Regions from separate parts of the Homo sapiens genome. Here region 1 is linked to region 2. The links are contacts of gene promoters, found by promoter capture Hi-C in blood cells and fetal thymus (Javierre and others, 2016). All regions are on one chromosome and are shown on one strand. Each heading gives the region's core, a stretch centred on a gene start or on the middle of the fragment in contact. The rest is flanking DNA. Distances are from core to core; before and after follow the strand shown.

What was found. Contacts are between HindIII fragments. The CHiCAGO score rates a contact against its expected background, and 5 or more counts as called.
Region 1: a contact is called between a fragment that was not itself captured here and the fragment with the promoter of FDXR in region 2, in 1 of 17 cell types (neutrophils). The highest score is 5.3, in neutrophils.

The regions. Positions count from the first base shown.
Region 1 is chr17:75,668,889-75,675,726 of GRCh38, forward strand. It overlaps SAP30BP (SAP30 binding protein), which reads left to right. Exons shown (of 11, transcript NM_013260.8): 3 at 2,928-2,975. Among named protein-coding and RNA genes, the nearest start is that of SAP30BP, 5.0 kb to the left of the region's middle. The HindIII fragment of the contact is 2,061 bases long and covers 3,112-5,172 here.
Region 2 is chr17:74,869,648-74,876,507 of GRCh38, forward strand. FDXR (ferredoxin reductase) reads right to left here and starts at 3,347. Exons shown (of 12, transcript NM_024417.5): 1 at 3,219-3,347; 2 at 2,389-2,486. The coding sequence starts at 3,297. It also overlaps a transcript of FADS6 not described here. RefSeq lists enhancers at 2,699-3,599, 3,397-3,691, 3,647-3,876, 4,497-5,397, 6,513-6,807, silencers at 3,087-3,216, 3,257-3,486 and a cis regulatory region at 5,762-5,833. The HindIII fragment of the contact is 12,318 bases long and covers 2,582-6,860 here.

The DNA of each region.
Region 1 (6,838 bases), core at 2,892-5,391, 800 kb after region 2:
GTTTTATGTTGATTTTTCCCTGTTTAAATGATTTACTCCATTTATAGCAGGCATTCATCCTAACTGGTGTATCATTTATATCTACAGTCAACTCTGCATTATTTTTAATCTTGGTTGGGGCTCATTTAAGTCTTCTCAGTTTATTAACAAGATAAGAAAGGAAAATTCGTTTTCACCTGCTTTTTCTTTTCTTTTTTTTTTTTGAGATAGGGTCTCACTCTGCTGTCCAGATTGGAGTGCAGTGGTGTGATCATAGATAGTTCACTACAGTCTTGAACTCCTGGGCGCAAGTGATCCTCCCACCTCAGCCTACCCAGTAGCTGGGACTACAGGTGGGCGCCACCATGCCTAGCTAACCTATTATTATTTTTTTTTGTCGGAATCTTGCTCTGTCGCCCATGCTGGAGTGCAGTGGTGCGATCTCTGCTCACTGCAACCTCCACCTCCCAGGTTCAAGCAATTCTCCTGCCCTCAGCCTCCTGAGTAGCTGGGATTACAGACACCTGCCATCACGCCTGGCTAATTTTTGTATTTTTCACAGAGACGGTTTCACCATGTTGGCCATTCTGGTCTCTAACTCCTGACCTCAGGTGATCCACCCGCCTCATCCTTCCAAAGTGCTGGGATTACAGGCGTGAGCCACTGCTCCTGGCCGATTTTTAAAATTTAAAAAAAAATTTTTTGTAGAGACGTTGTTTCACTATGTTTCCCAGTCTGGTTTCAAACTTCTGGCCTCAAGCAATTCCCCTGCCTCACCCTCCCAAAGTGCTGGGATTACAGGTATGAGCCACCATCCCTGGCCTTCTTAACTTCTTTCTTGACATTTTATTTGGCACTTTTTATAATGGTGCCCTTAGTTCTTGATCACAAATCTTGCCTGAAGTTCAGTAGGTGCTGGAGAAAGGAGAACCTGTGCTATTATTAACAAGAAAGTCTTTAGACACATAATCACCTGAGCAACATGAGCCAGAATTTAAGTTTGCAGAAAACGCAAGGAAATTGAAGTTGGTGCTTAGCATAAGACAGGCAGAGTTGAGTCTAGATGTCAAATCTGACTGCTTAGCAAGTTTTAATTAAATCACTTAAAATATATTATTTGTTTGAAATTTTTGTTACATGTTGGTATGTAAATGTTAGCATTAAAATTCTTTCCAGCCAAGCACGGTGGCTCATGCCTGTAATCCCAGCACTTTGGGAGGCTGAGGTGGGCGGATCACAAGGTCAGGAGATCAAGACCATCTTGGCCAACATGGTGAAACCCCATCTCTACTAAAAATACAATAATTAGCAGGGCATGGTGGTACGCACCTGTAGTCCCACCTACTCGGGAGGCTGAGGCAGGAGAATCGCTTGAACCCGGGAGGCGGAGGTTGCAGTGAGCCGAGATCACGCCACTGCACTCCAGCCTGGGCAACAGAGCCAGACTCCATCTTAAAAAAAAAAAAAATTATTTCCACAACAAACAGAAATGCGTTTTGTACATGATGCATTTTGGGAGATACTTTCATGCCTTTAGCCCCATCCATTAATATTGATAATTCAGAGTTGACTGAAATTATTCAGAAAAGTTTTGCAAGTTGTTTTCTGACTTTTCTGAAGTACACACATTCTGGCTTAATATTCATAACTCTTTTCTTTAGTACGTTTGCATAATGTGTTTTTGAAGTGTTATTTCATATTTGCTTTGCTTAGAATTTTCATCATGTTTAAGCTTCATTTCATATTTTAGTAAAATCCTCTCATCAGATCTTGTTGTAGAGATTCTGAAATGTGATTGTATTTGTCTGAGCTCCATCTCTGTTTATTTGGCATGACTGATTTCATTTTAAGGAGATTATGGAGATTGCATTTAAAGCCTTGGACTCACTGGTACCTTACAGGACAGTTAAGTCTCCAAATCATGAGTCTAGTTTGTTCAAGTCTCTCGAGTGGTATTTATATTAATATATGGAGTGCTGTGTAATGTTTGGGCTGAAATGTAGCTTTGTTGAAAATAGTAGTTTCAAATGAAACCATTTTTTCCTGGGTATTTAGTTAAAGGCTTCTGTGCATTGGGAGTGTTCTGGGTAGTGGAGGTGACATGGATTTAGCCAGCTAATAAGGTAGCTGGTCCAGCATCTGCTCCTGATCTTTGACCTTCATAGCATCAGCGTTAGCGTTCAGTGGAATGGCGGGCTCGCTTTGGAGAATGCCTTACCGTGTGTGATCCTTTGTGTCAGGCTGACCTCATCTGGATAAGGAACAGGACTGGGTAGAATGGATCACTGGCAGTTCTGTGAGCACTTAGGTGGAGGCAGAGCCCACTCAACTGGGACTCCTGAAAGGTTGGGCATTGCCCTTTAGTCCTGCCTTTCCCAGGTCACTTGCTCAGGTAGTTTGATGCCTGCCTTCCTGTGTTGATGTTTGTGCAAATGCCGGTTGAGGTGCTGCGATACAGCTGTGTGTAAGCCTTGGCACTTGGTGTTGGACACTGTTAGAGTAGGTCCGAGTCTGATGTACATGTGTATATGAAAAGGAAAGAAGGCTCATAATCCTGATTTGAAATAACTGATACTTCAGTGGAAACACGATGCCTGTTTTATTGTGTGGCCTGATCTTACTCTTTCCTAAAACATATTGCAAGCTTTCTCCATTTTTATGTATGTGACTTTGAACTCGGGCATCTTCATTGATGTGGACTGTCTCACCACTAAAGTAACTTGACTTTGAGCTGCTGATGCTTTTTTGTTTTTTGTTTTTTTCCCCTCCAGAATATCTCTTTTTCCCCTTATTTTTCTCTGGTTCTGAGTTATATGGTAGGGGAGGGATTCTTGGTGGGATGACCCCAGCTGGGTAAATGGGCTGTTTGCTCCGGCCCCTAGTTATGCATGTGAGACTCCTCAGGCCCGCTCCTTTAAGCTTAATCCTCTAAATTCTTTGTCTTGTAGGAAGATGACGATTCAGAGACTGAAAAACCTGAGGCTGATGACCCAAAGGTATTTGGTGTTGGCTGTGGTGGGTGGCTGGATGCAAACAAGGTGTTTGAACACTGTGGCTCAGTTCGTATGTTTGGTCAAGATCTGTCCCACTGACAAACTGTGCAACTGTGTGGACATTTTCTGGGATAAAATAAGCTTTATAAAGAAAGAACCTGGAGACAACTCAGGAATGAACAAATCCTGAGACACATTGGATTTCCAGCCTTTCAGATTGTGCCATATCTCCTGACTAGAAAGGCGAGAGGCCTGGCTGAGGCCAACAACCCACTTGCATTCTGCATCCCAGATGGGGCTTTAAGTGTCACTGCCCTGCAGGTGGATTAGTCTGTTTCTAGACCCAGGAAGGTGTAAGGGCCGCCTCGCGTGCTTTGGGTTCTCTTTAGTCATCTAGAAGTGAACAAGAGGCTATAAGAAGGTCAGACCAAAATGAGGCCTCTCCCCAGCTCTCAGGGATGGTGGGTCTAATGCTCATTTTCCTGGGGGTGTGTCCATCCACTTTTGGGCAAGCTGTACAGAATGGTCTTTTTCGGAACAACATAACTATTCTCATAGTGTCATCCTAGTAGCAGCCAAGAGTAATTTGTAGCAATTCCTATCACATTCCATAATGATCTGTTGTGAAGGTTAAGACACCCTTGTGTTGGTTAAGCTGCTGTGCTGTGCATTGGCCATTAGAAATGTGTACTTGCTGAAGAGTCATTTTTTATGAGGAAAAACTTCCCCCCTGTACCCCCAAAGAAAAAGACTTAATTATATCACTCTAGACCCGGGGAATAAGGACCCATTTTGCAGTTAAAAACTGCTTTGAGGCCAGCCGCAGTAGCTCACGCCTGTAATCCCAGCACTTTGGGAGGCTGAGGCGGGAGGATCACTTGAGGTCAGGAGTTCAAGACCAGCCTGGCCAGTATGGTGAAACCCCGTCTCTACTAAAAATACAAAAATTAACTGGTGAGACTGGTGGGTGGTGCACACCTGTGATCCCAGCTACTGGGGAAGCTGAGGCAGGGGAATTACTTGAACCTGGGAGGCAGAGGTTGCAGTGAGCCATGATCTGCCAATGCACTCCAACCTGGGCAACAGAATGAGAATCTGTCTCAAAAAAAAAAACAAAAAAAAACTGCTTGGAAACCAGCTGTAACTTTCAAGATGACCTAGTAAAATTTAGGAAATTTATGCCCAATTAAAATCTAAAACAGTAATATTCTTGAAAATATAGTGTGAGCTGTTCCATATTTGAGCTGATTCTGTGATTGGATAGAACTGTATGTAGCCACTAAAATCTTGAGACGTTGTGAGTGAGAAAGATAAGAGTGTGTTTTACCAGGAAAGAAAGTTTTGGCGCCAGCATGCAGGAGGGAAAAAAAAGAACCCCTGAAAACTGTAAATGCAACCTGCTTTCTATGCTGAGTGAAAAACCTGGAACCCAGGCCTGAGAACTCGCCCTGCCTGAGAACTGGCAAGATGGTATGGGCAGACCCATGGCCCCATAGTTCAAAGTCAGTCACAGCTCTCCTCGGGCTTGCAGAACAAAACACTCAGTAGTGATAATCTTCTCTGCCTAGTATTTAGGGTATGTGGGACTTGGAGCCTGCACGTAAAACAAGCCCAGGGAGCCGTTAAGTGTTTGGGTTTCAGTTGTGGAGGGAAGGGAGGATCTGGGTCCTAGAGTCTTTCTGGGTACAGTTGCAGCCTTTTCTTAGGGCTGGAAGGCTTCCTGGGGAAGTTGGCTGGAGAGGAGGGTACATAACACTTAACGGTCACCCCTTCTAAAATACTGTAATCCAGGCAACAAATCCTTGGGAGATGACAGGGCTTTGTGAGTCAGGGTGGGGGTCACATGAAAAACAAAACAGACTTTACTGCTGTCCAGTAGCAGTCACTAAAGAGCGGGGTGGGAGGGACCCAAAAAAGGTGAAGCTGGGAAGATTGTGGAAATGCCTTTTGTGCTCAGGCTCCCCTTCTCAGCCCTACATCACGGCTGACAGCCTCGTCATTCCTGCCTGCTCCTTGACTGATGTGCTTCGCTGTTCCTCATTCACTCATGTGCATTTCAAGTTTTACTGTGGAATGAAAAGTTTTCATGGAATAATTTCTGTTCCTCTTGAGGAGCCCTCAGAAATCAGAACACAAAATCCAACCCTCAAAGTCACTTGATATAGTTCTTTTGGAGGGTGATGGAGAAGGGTTTAGATAAAGCTTGCCAGCTTCAATGTTCTGCAATCCCCAGTGGCTGCCAGGCCTTTAGGAGTCCTCGTGGCATCTCCAAGGACTACAAATGATCCCCAGCATGAGTCTTCTGTGATACTCTTATCTTAGTCCTGGCCCTGTCATCCTTCTGCTTGAGCTGGCCTCAGACTCTCTTCCACATAGCAACATGTACCTCAAATCCAGAACTTTCTGGCACATTTACATTTTATTTTTATTTATTTATTTTATTTATTTTTTTGAGACAGAGTCTTGCTCTGTCGCTCAGGCTGGAGTGCAGTGCTGTGATCTCGGCTCAGTGCAACCTCCGCCTCCTGGGTTCAAGCGATTCTCCTGTCTCAGTTTCCCGAGTAGCTGGGATTACAGGTGTGAGCCACCATGCCCAGCTAATTTTTTGTATTTTTAATAGAGACAGGGTTTCACCATGTTGGCCAGGCTGGTCTTGAACTCATGGCCTCAAGTGATAGGCCCGCCTCTGCCTCCCAAAGTGCTGGGATTACAGGCATAAGCCACTGTGCCCAGCCCACATTTTTTTAAATTGATGTGTAACAATATTTTTTATATTCAAAACCCTTAATTTTGGACATTCTGCTTTAAGCATATGAAGTTTTTTTGTTTGTTTTTTGTTTTTTTTTTTTTTTTTTTTTTTTTTTTGAGGTGGAGTCTCCTCTGTCGCCTGGAGTGCAGTGGTGCCATCATAACTTACTGCAGCCACAACCTCCCTGGCTCAATTAATCCTCCCACCTCAGCCTCCCAAACAGCTGGGACTACAGGTGTGTGCATCACACCTAGCAATTTTTTTTAATTTTTTTGTAGAGGAAAGGTTTTGCCATATTGCCCCGGCTGGTCTTGAACTCCTGGGCTCAAGTAATCTGCCCACATTGGCTTCCCAAAGGGCTGGGATTAGAGCTGTGAGCCACCAGGCCCAGTGCACATGAACATAGGAAGTTTCTAACAATAGAATATGTTACAAGTGTGGATCTTTGTTAGAAGTGTTGTTTAACAATTAGATTACTGTCATAATTGTCATCTCCACTAGGTGGCATTCTCCTTTCTACTTTGGTTTTTTGTTGTTTTTTTGTTTTGTTTTGTTTTTGAGTAGGAGTTTCGCTCTTGTTGCCCAAGCTGGAGTGCAATGGCGCAATCTCAGCTCACTGCAACCTCTGCCTCCCGCATTCAAGCCATTCTCCTGCCTCAGCCTCCCGAGTAGCTGGGATTACAGGCACATGCCATGTCGCCCAGCTAATTTTTGTATTTTTAGTAGAGACGGGGTTTCACCATGTTGGCCAGGATGGTCTTGATCTCCTGACCTCGTTATCTGCCCACCTCAGCCTCCCAAAGTGCTGGGATTACAGGTGTGAGCCACCTCGCCCGGCCTCTACTATGGTTTTTTAAGATCTTTTAATTTTTTTCAGTAGTTCTCAAAACATTTAGGTTTCTTTACACAATTAAAAATTGAGGATCTCAGAGTTTTCATTTTGGTTTTATCTATTGATGTTTACTATTTTATAAGTTAAAACTGAGAAAATTTTAAATTACTTATTTTAAAATAACAAACCTGATCCGGCCACAGTGACTTGTGCCTGTAATCCCAGCACTTTGGGAGGCCGAGGTGGGCAGATTGGTTGAGCCCAGGAGTTTGAGACCAACCTGGA
Region 2 (6,860 bases), core at 2,097-4,596:
CCCCCTCCCCGCACCCCAGTCTCTGTGCTTATAGCCGTCAGAGCCCTAAAATACCTTGTAAATTATCCACCTGTCCCCTCCACATTCGAATGTCAGGTCCTCGAGCACAGGGACCACGTCTGTCCTGTTCACCCCCATGTTCCCAGTAAAGCCTGCGCCCAGAACATGTTACGTCCAGTAAATGATTACTGAATGGATTAACATGGATGGCCTCACATGGAGCTGCCTTCGCTCAGATCCCAGTGCCATCCCTGCTCCACGGTGGAAGCTTGGACAACCTCACTTGGCCCTAGCATCCTTACCTGTGAAGCAAGAGGCACGACACCTGCTTTGCAGGTTGTCATGAGGATGCTACGAGATGCTGTGCTCAGTGCCTGACTCAAGCTAAGGGCCACTGTCCCAAACGTGCTGCATGTGGTCCTGTCTTAGGAGCACAGCCAGTAGCTTGGAGCTCCCTGTGGGCAAAGATCAGCCCAAGGATCAGAACAAGGATTGTACCTGGCCTGAGCCCCTCCCCATCCCATTCCACAAGGAAAGCATGTGCACGTGTCTGCCAGCTGAATACAGTCGTGCTAAGAACACTGCCTGGCCGGGCGCGGGGGCTCACGCCTGTAATCCCAGGACTTTGGGAGGCCGAGGTGGGCAGATCACTTGAGGTCAGGAGTTCAAAACCAGCCTGATCAACATGGTGAAACCCTGTCTCAACCAAAAATACAAAAATTAGCTGCATGTGGTGGAGTGCGCCTGTAATCCCAGTTACTCAGGAGGCTGAGGCAGGAGAATCGCTTGAACTTGGGAGATGGAGGTTGAAGTGAGCTGAGACTGTGCCACTGCACTCCAGCCTGGGCGACAGAGCCAGACTCCATCTCAAAAAAAAAAAAAAAAAAAAAAGAACACTGCCTGGAAAGCTTACTCTCCTCCCTTCCAAAATGTCAGGATCAGCTAAAAAAAAACTGTCCCTTATACAAAGCCCTTCAGGGCCTCTCCAGCCCCCATGTGCTCCCTGATCTCCATCCCAGAGCCCAGGCTGTCCTCCCTCCCACATGGCAGCGTGCCCAAGGCCTTGCATTCCAGGATGACTCCCCACATGTGGGAGGCCCTCACCAAAGCCCTTGGTCTGCTTCAAGGCAGCTCAAATGCACTGTCTCTCTTTTTTTTTTTTTTTTTTTTTTTGAGACAGGGTCTCACTCTGTCGCCCAGGCTGGAGTACAGTGATTTGATCTTGGCTCAGTGCTACCTCCACCTCCTGGGTTCAAGCGATCCTCCCGACTCAGCCTCCCAAGTACCTGGGACTACAGACCTGTGCCACCACACGTGGCTGATTTTTCTATTTTTAGTAGAGATGGGGTTTCACCACGTTGGCCAGGCTGGTCTCAAACTCCTGACTTCAAGTGATCCACCTGCCTTGGCCTCCCAAAGTGCTGGGATTACAGACATGAGCCACCTGGGCTTCCGGCCCAGGAAACAGTTTCTGATTGACCCCACCTGCCTCGGCTCACGCTGCCCACATTATTGTAATTAGCTCTTTCACCCGTGTTGCCTGGGAAGCATGCACGGGTCACTTTTCAGCAGAGTGATCAACTCATCCCAGTTTCCCAAGAACTTCCAGCTTAGCGCTGAAGCCCCTTGTCCTGGGCAGTCCAGGCCAGTTGGTCACCCTACATTTCAAGCATCTGTGTGTGTGTGTATAATTAAGATATTCATCCTTTCTCTTGTCTCTCCACGGACACTCCAAGCCTCTCCAAAGCTAGGCAACTGTCTCACGTCTCAGTTAACCTGGGTATCCCCTCTCTACTCTGTCCCAAAGTCTGATGTGGAGTCTCAAGTAGAACCTGTAGCCTTGGCTTGGGGCCCTTCCTGCCGAGGCAGACACTGAAAGCCTTGAGATCCTGGCCTTCACAGGGGAAGGGGGAGGGGCAGAGGGCAGGCTGAAAGAACAGAATGGCACGGAGGACTGGAGCTATGGGTGAGGAGGGCATGGCAAGGCAGGTAAAGTTACAGAAAGCGGAGGAGGTGGGTAGCCTCGAGATGTAGGATGTTTGGGATAGAGTGAAGATAGACGAGAGAGGAGGGAAGATGAAGGAGGACAAAGTCATTTTGCAGGTCTACATAAGCCCCCTGGAGTGCTTGGCCAGGGAGGCAAAGCTGACCACCTGCCACTGACCACTCACCACCAATGTGCGTTTTACACCCCTGTCACACTGAGGACGGGAGGGGAGGGGAGCCTCAGGTGTAGGTGAGGAAGCAAGTGGGAAGTGTCCAGGCCAGATGGCTGGGAGCCCCTTCCCCATAAGGCAACCAGGAGTGCTCTTAAAACCCAAAGCGGGTGAGGCTTGCCCTTAGGACTGGAGCAGCAGGTGAATGATGGACTATGAGTAAGTGGCTTACCTTTAGCAGGTGTTGGGCCGTGTAGAAGCCAGCTGGGCCACTGCCCACCACACAGATCTGGGGGGTCTTCTCCTGTGTGGAGAAATGGTGGCAGAAGCCTGGGGCCAGGCAGAGGAGAGGGAAAAGGTCAAAATTAACTTCTCTCCCCAGTCCCAAACCAACCTGAATATCCAACAGAAGCTGGAACTTCCCAAGCTTCACCCTCACCTGCATCCTCCTTCTCTTGTTCCTCAAGGCTTTGGCATTTGCAGGGTCTCTTACTTCATCTGAACCCCCAAAGGCTGTGGGTTCATCCAGAGCCCACATCTCACCCATGAACCTACTACACCACTGCCAATGGCCTGCCCAACAACACTTCATTCCCTATCCAATCGGCTAGAATCCCACATCCTTCCAACGGCCTCCATATCATCCCAATCTCGCCCCCGTGGGTCTCCCCACGGTGTCCCTCCTCTAACCCCTCTCTCTCTCCACAAAACGCTATATTGCCCATATAGACCCGTCTTATTCCTACAGATCCCTGTTTCGACTCAGACTTTCCTCTCGCCCCACAGACCTCCGTATCATCCTCCATTCACCCCGTCTCACACCTGTAGATCTCAAAGTCTCTCCTTTTCACCTTTGTTGACCTCCGTCTCTAACCCTAGAAGCCTCACATCTCACGCACAGATCTCCGCCCACCCCCGTACACCACCGGGATCTCGCCAGCAGGAAGACACCCCTTCAGTCTCACCCTTCTCCAGCCCTGCCCCAGCTCTGCTCCGACCCCTACTCAGCGCTCGCAGGCCTCCCCGCGCTCCCATCCAGCCCCAAAGGCGCCCTGCTCCTACTCGGGGTGCTCCCGGCGGGAGGCAGCCGGGTCCGAGGCCACGCCGACCAGCCCCACCAGCGCCAGCAGCGCGAAGCCATGGCTGGGAGCAGCAACCTGCAAGTGGATCTGTTCCTAGCTACTGCTCCGCAGGGCAAGCCCGCTCCTGCCCGGGCCCGCCCACAAGCGAGGCCCCGCCCCAAACCCCGCCCCCTGCGCTCCGGGAAAGCGGAGCCTTGCGGCTCCACCCCGACTCCCGAGAGAATCCCGCCCCCAAAAGAGAGACCCGCCCTTAACTACGCCCCACCGTCGAAGCCCCGCCCCTCGGAGCATCCGGGGTATACGCGATTTAATACATTTCTCCCCAGGCCTCACCTTCCCTCCAAATCCCGGAAGCCTAGGGTTGGAAGAGAGCGAATCCCCATCGCTGTTTCAGTCCCTCCCCAAGGAAACAGCCACTAAGAAAGGAGCTTATTTTACTTAGCCGCGCCCCTCTCGGGAGGCTCTCGTCGCTCACTGATGACGCAGACGCCCTTGCCATTTGATTGCGAATCCTCCCACGTGACTTCGTCCTAGCCAATCACGAGTCCGGCTCCAAGCGAGCCTTCCCGCCGTTGGGAAATAACCAGAGTGCGGAAGTCTGGGGCGAGGGAGCTCCTTCCCGGAGCCCAGCAGCCTCCTTCTTCGACCCCGGGTGTTGTGCCGATGTAACCCCTCAAATCCCCGTCTTTGCCGGGCCAGGGAGAATATTAAACCCTGGAAAGCTCGTCCCACCTCACCTCCTTTCCCATTACATAGGTGAAGAAAAGCGGGGCGGGGCAGTGGCTTACGTATGGTACTAAGGACAGAGCGTCCGACCCCCGTGCAGCCGAGCCGGGACCAGAGTTGAGGTACTCCCCTCGGGTTCAGAATTTAAGGGGGCTCCAAAACACTCAGTAATCAAGATAAATATAATACTGCAACGTTTTAAAAGGTCAAAAGTAATGCAAAAAGTCTATGATCAAAATGTTTTTAAAAATAAGGACAGGATCCGTAGTCACAGCTGACCCAATAAGCCTAACCCCTCTTCCTTTTCCCCATGGGCCCTCTTGTCAAATATTACTTCCTTGGAGAAGCCTTTTCTCTGACCCGTCCCCTCCCAAGTTCCAAGGAGTTAAAGGCCTCTCATTCCACAGCATCTGACCTTATCCCATCATGACTTACTACACTGGTTGTCGTTTTTAATGAGATTTTAAATTCAATAATAACATACAGAAAAGTGCACAAATCATGAGTGTACAACTTGACAATATATCACAAGGTGTAACCATATAACCACCACCCAGATCAAGAAATAAAACATGGCCAGTATCCCAGGAGTCCTCTGTGCCCTTACTGGTCACTTCCCCTCCCTCCCACTGGTAAGTAAATGCTGTCTGCTTTCTAATAGGTCACTGTGTTTTATGCCTGTCCCACTAGACCAGGAGTAGGCAAACTATAGCTTGCAGGCCAAATACTGTCCACCAGCATGTTTTGGATGACCAACAAGAATGGCTTTTACTGTTTTTGTTTTTTTGGAGGTTTTGGGGTTTTTGTTTTTGGTTTTGATTTTGTTTTTTGAGACAGGGTCCTGCTCTGTCACCCAGGCTGGAGTGCAGTGGTGCTCACTGCAACCTCTGCTTCCTGGCTTGGCTCAAGCGAGCCTCAGGCCTCAGCCTCCGGAGTAGCTGGGACCACAGGTGCCTGCCACCACGCCTGGTTCATTTTTGCATTTTTTGTGGAGATGGGGTTTTGCCATGTCACCCAGGCTGGTCTCGAACTCCTGAACTCAAAGCGATCCTCCCACCTCGGCCTTCCAAAGTGCCAGGATTACAGGAGTGAGCCACCACACCCAGCTTGTTTTTATATTTTTAATGGTAAAAAACAACATTTTGTGACACGTAAAAATTACATGAAATTCAGACTTCAGTTTGAATAAAACTTTATTGGAAGACATCCATGCTTACTTCTTTACATATTGTCTATGGCTATATTTGTGCTTTGATGGCACAATTGAGTAGTTGTAACAGAGATCATATGGTTCGCAAAGCCCCAGATATTTACTATCTGGTCCTTTACAGAGTTTGACCACCCCTGCACTACATTATAAGCTCCATGAGGATGGGGACCCAGTCTCAGCTCTTATACCCCCAGGGCTTCACACACTGGCTAGCACATAATGGAAGTTCGTACAATCGAAAAAGTTCTGTAGGGCTCCCCATCTAGAGGCAGTATATCTGGTGGTGGAGGATGGATTCTAGAGTCAGACAACATTGGGTCTGAATCCCTCTTCCTCCACTTACTAGCTATATGACATTGAGAAATTTAATCTCTCCAGGACTTTTTTTCACTGTCTGTAACATTTGGGGGAAATATGAATAGTGGCAATTTGTTGTAGACATTAAAATCAGATGATGAGGTCAAGACAACTTCCATAAATGCTAGATAAACATTAGCTATTATTATCATCATCCATATGTATTATGACCTCCCATATGTCTCTGTAGATTAGACCTTAAGTCTCTGCAGAGATCTGGATATACTTCATTCACTCCTGTCACCTCCCTCACCTCTCAGGCCTCAGAAATTCCCAGCCCACATCCTAAGTGAAACAGAAAATGGAGCCTCAAAGCAATCGAGTGACTTGTTCCCATGATACCCATGGTACAGCCAGATCTGGCACCAGTGCCTTCAGCTGCTGCCCATACCCCAGTCAGGTCCAGATCAATAACAATGAGTCATTGGTTATGTATTTGGATGGTTTTAATCATGAGCCAGGACTGTGCAACTGGGGCCTTTTCTGCCACTGCGTTTCTCAAATGGAGAATTAGCAGTTTGATTAATTACACCCCTAGATCTCAAGGCCATTTCTAAGCTGCTAATGCATTTCCAAGGAGCAGCAATAACATATAGCAAAGCAGTGGGCTGGGGAGCCGCCAAGCCTGCCTCGTGCCAAGAGGGCTGCCTGGATCCAAAACTCCACTCTATCAGTCAACCTTCTAGCAAGAAACAGATGGCACACTCAAAAGGCGTGATTGAGGACAGTTTAATGAAGGAGTTTGTATACAGAGGTGTGAGCAGGGTGAAGGGAATGGAGAAGCACCCCAGGCTAGCAACAGCTGGAAACCACTACCACCGCAAGCCTGGAGGGAGCTGTTTCAGAACTAGTGAGAGTCTGTAGCTATGGAAAAGGGTGTCTAAAGGAACTGCGGTCTTTGGTAAAGGAAGGTGTGGTGGAGATGAATGGAGAGTGCACATAAAAGAACCAGTGGCCTCTGTGCAGCTGCCTAAGGCCACACCACAGAGGGGCTCTCCAACGGAACAAGGCTCAGGGAATGCCTGTGCCTGTAGCCAGACCCCTCTGCCCATCCCCCAGGCTCCCATTTGCCGGCAGTTTGTCTCCCTATCAGCAGGGTCAGGAGGCCTTTCACTCTATCCAAGGCCTTCACTGAAAAACAAGGCAATTACACGCTCAGAGAATGACTTGCATGTTCTCAACTGGGTCAACTCAGCAATGTCTGGAGACATTTTTGATTGTCACAACTTGAGCTCCCAGCATCTAGTAGGTAGAAGCCAGTGACGCTGCTAAACATCCAACAATGCACAGGACAGCCCCCAACAACACAGAATTGGCCAGATAAAATGT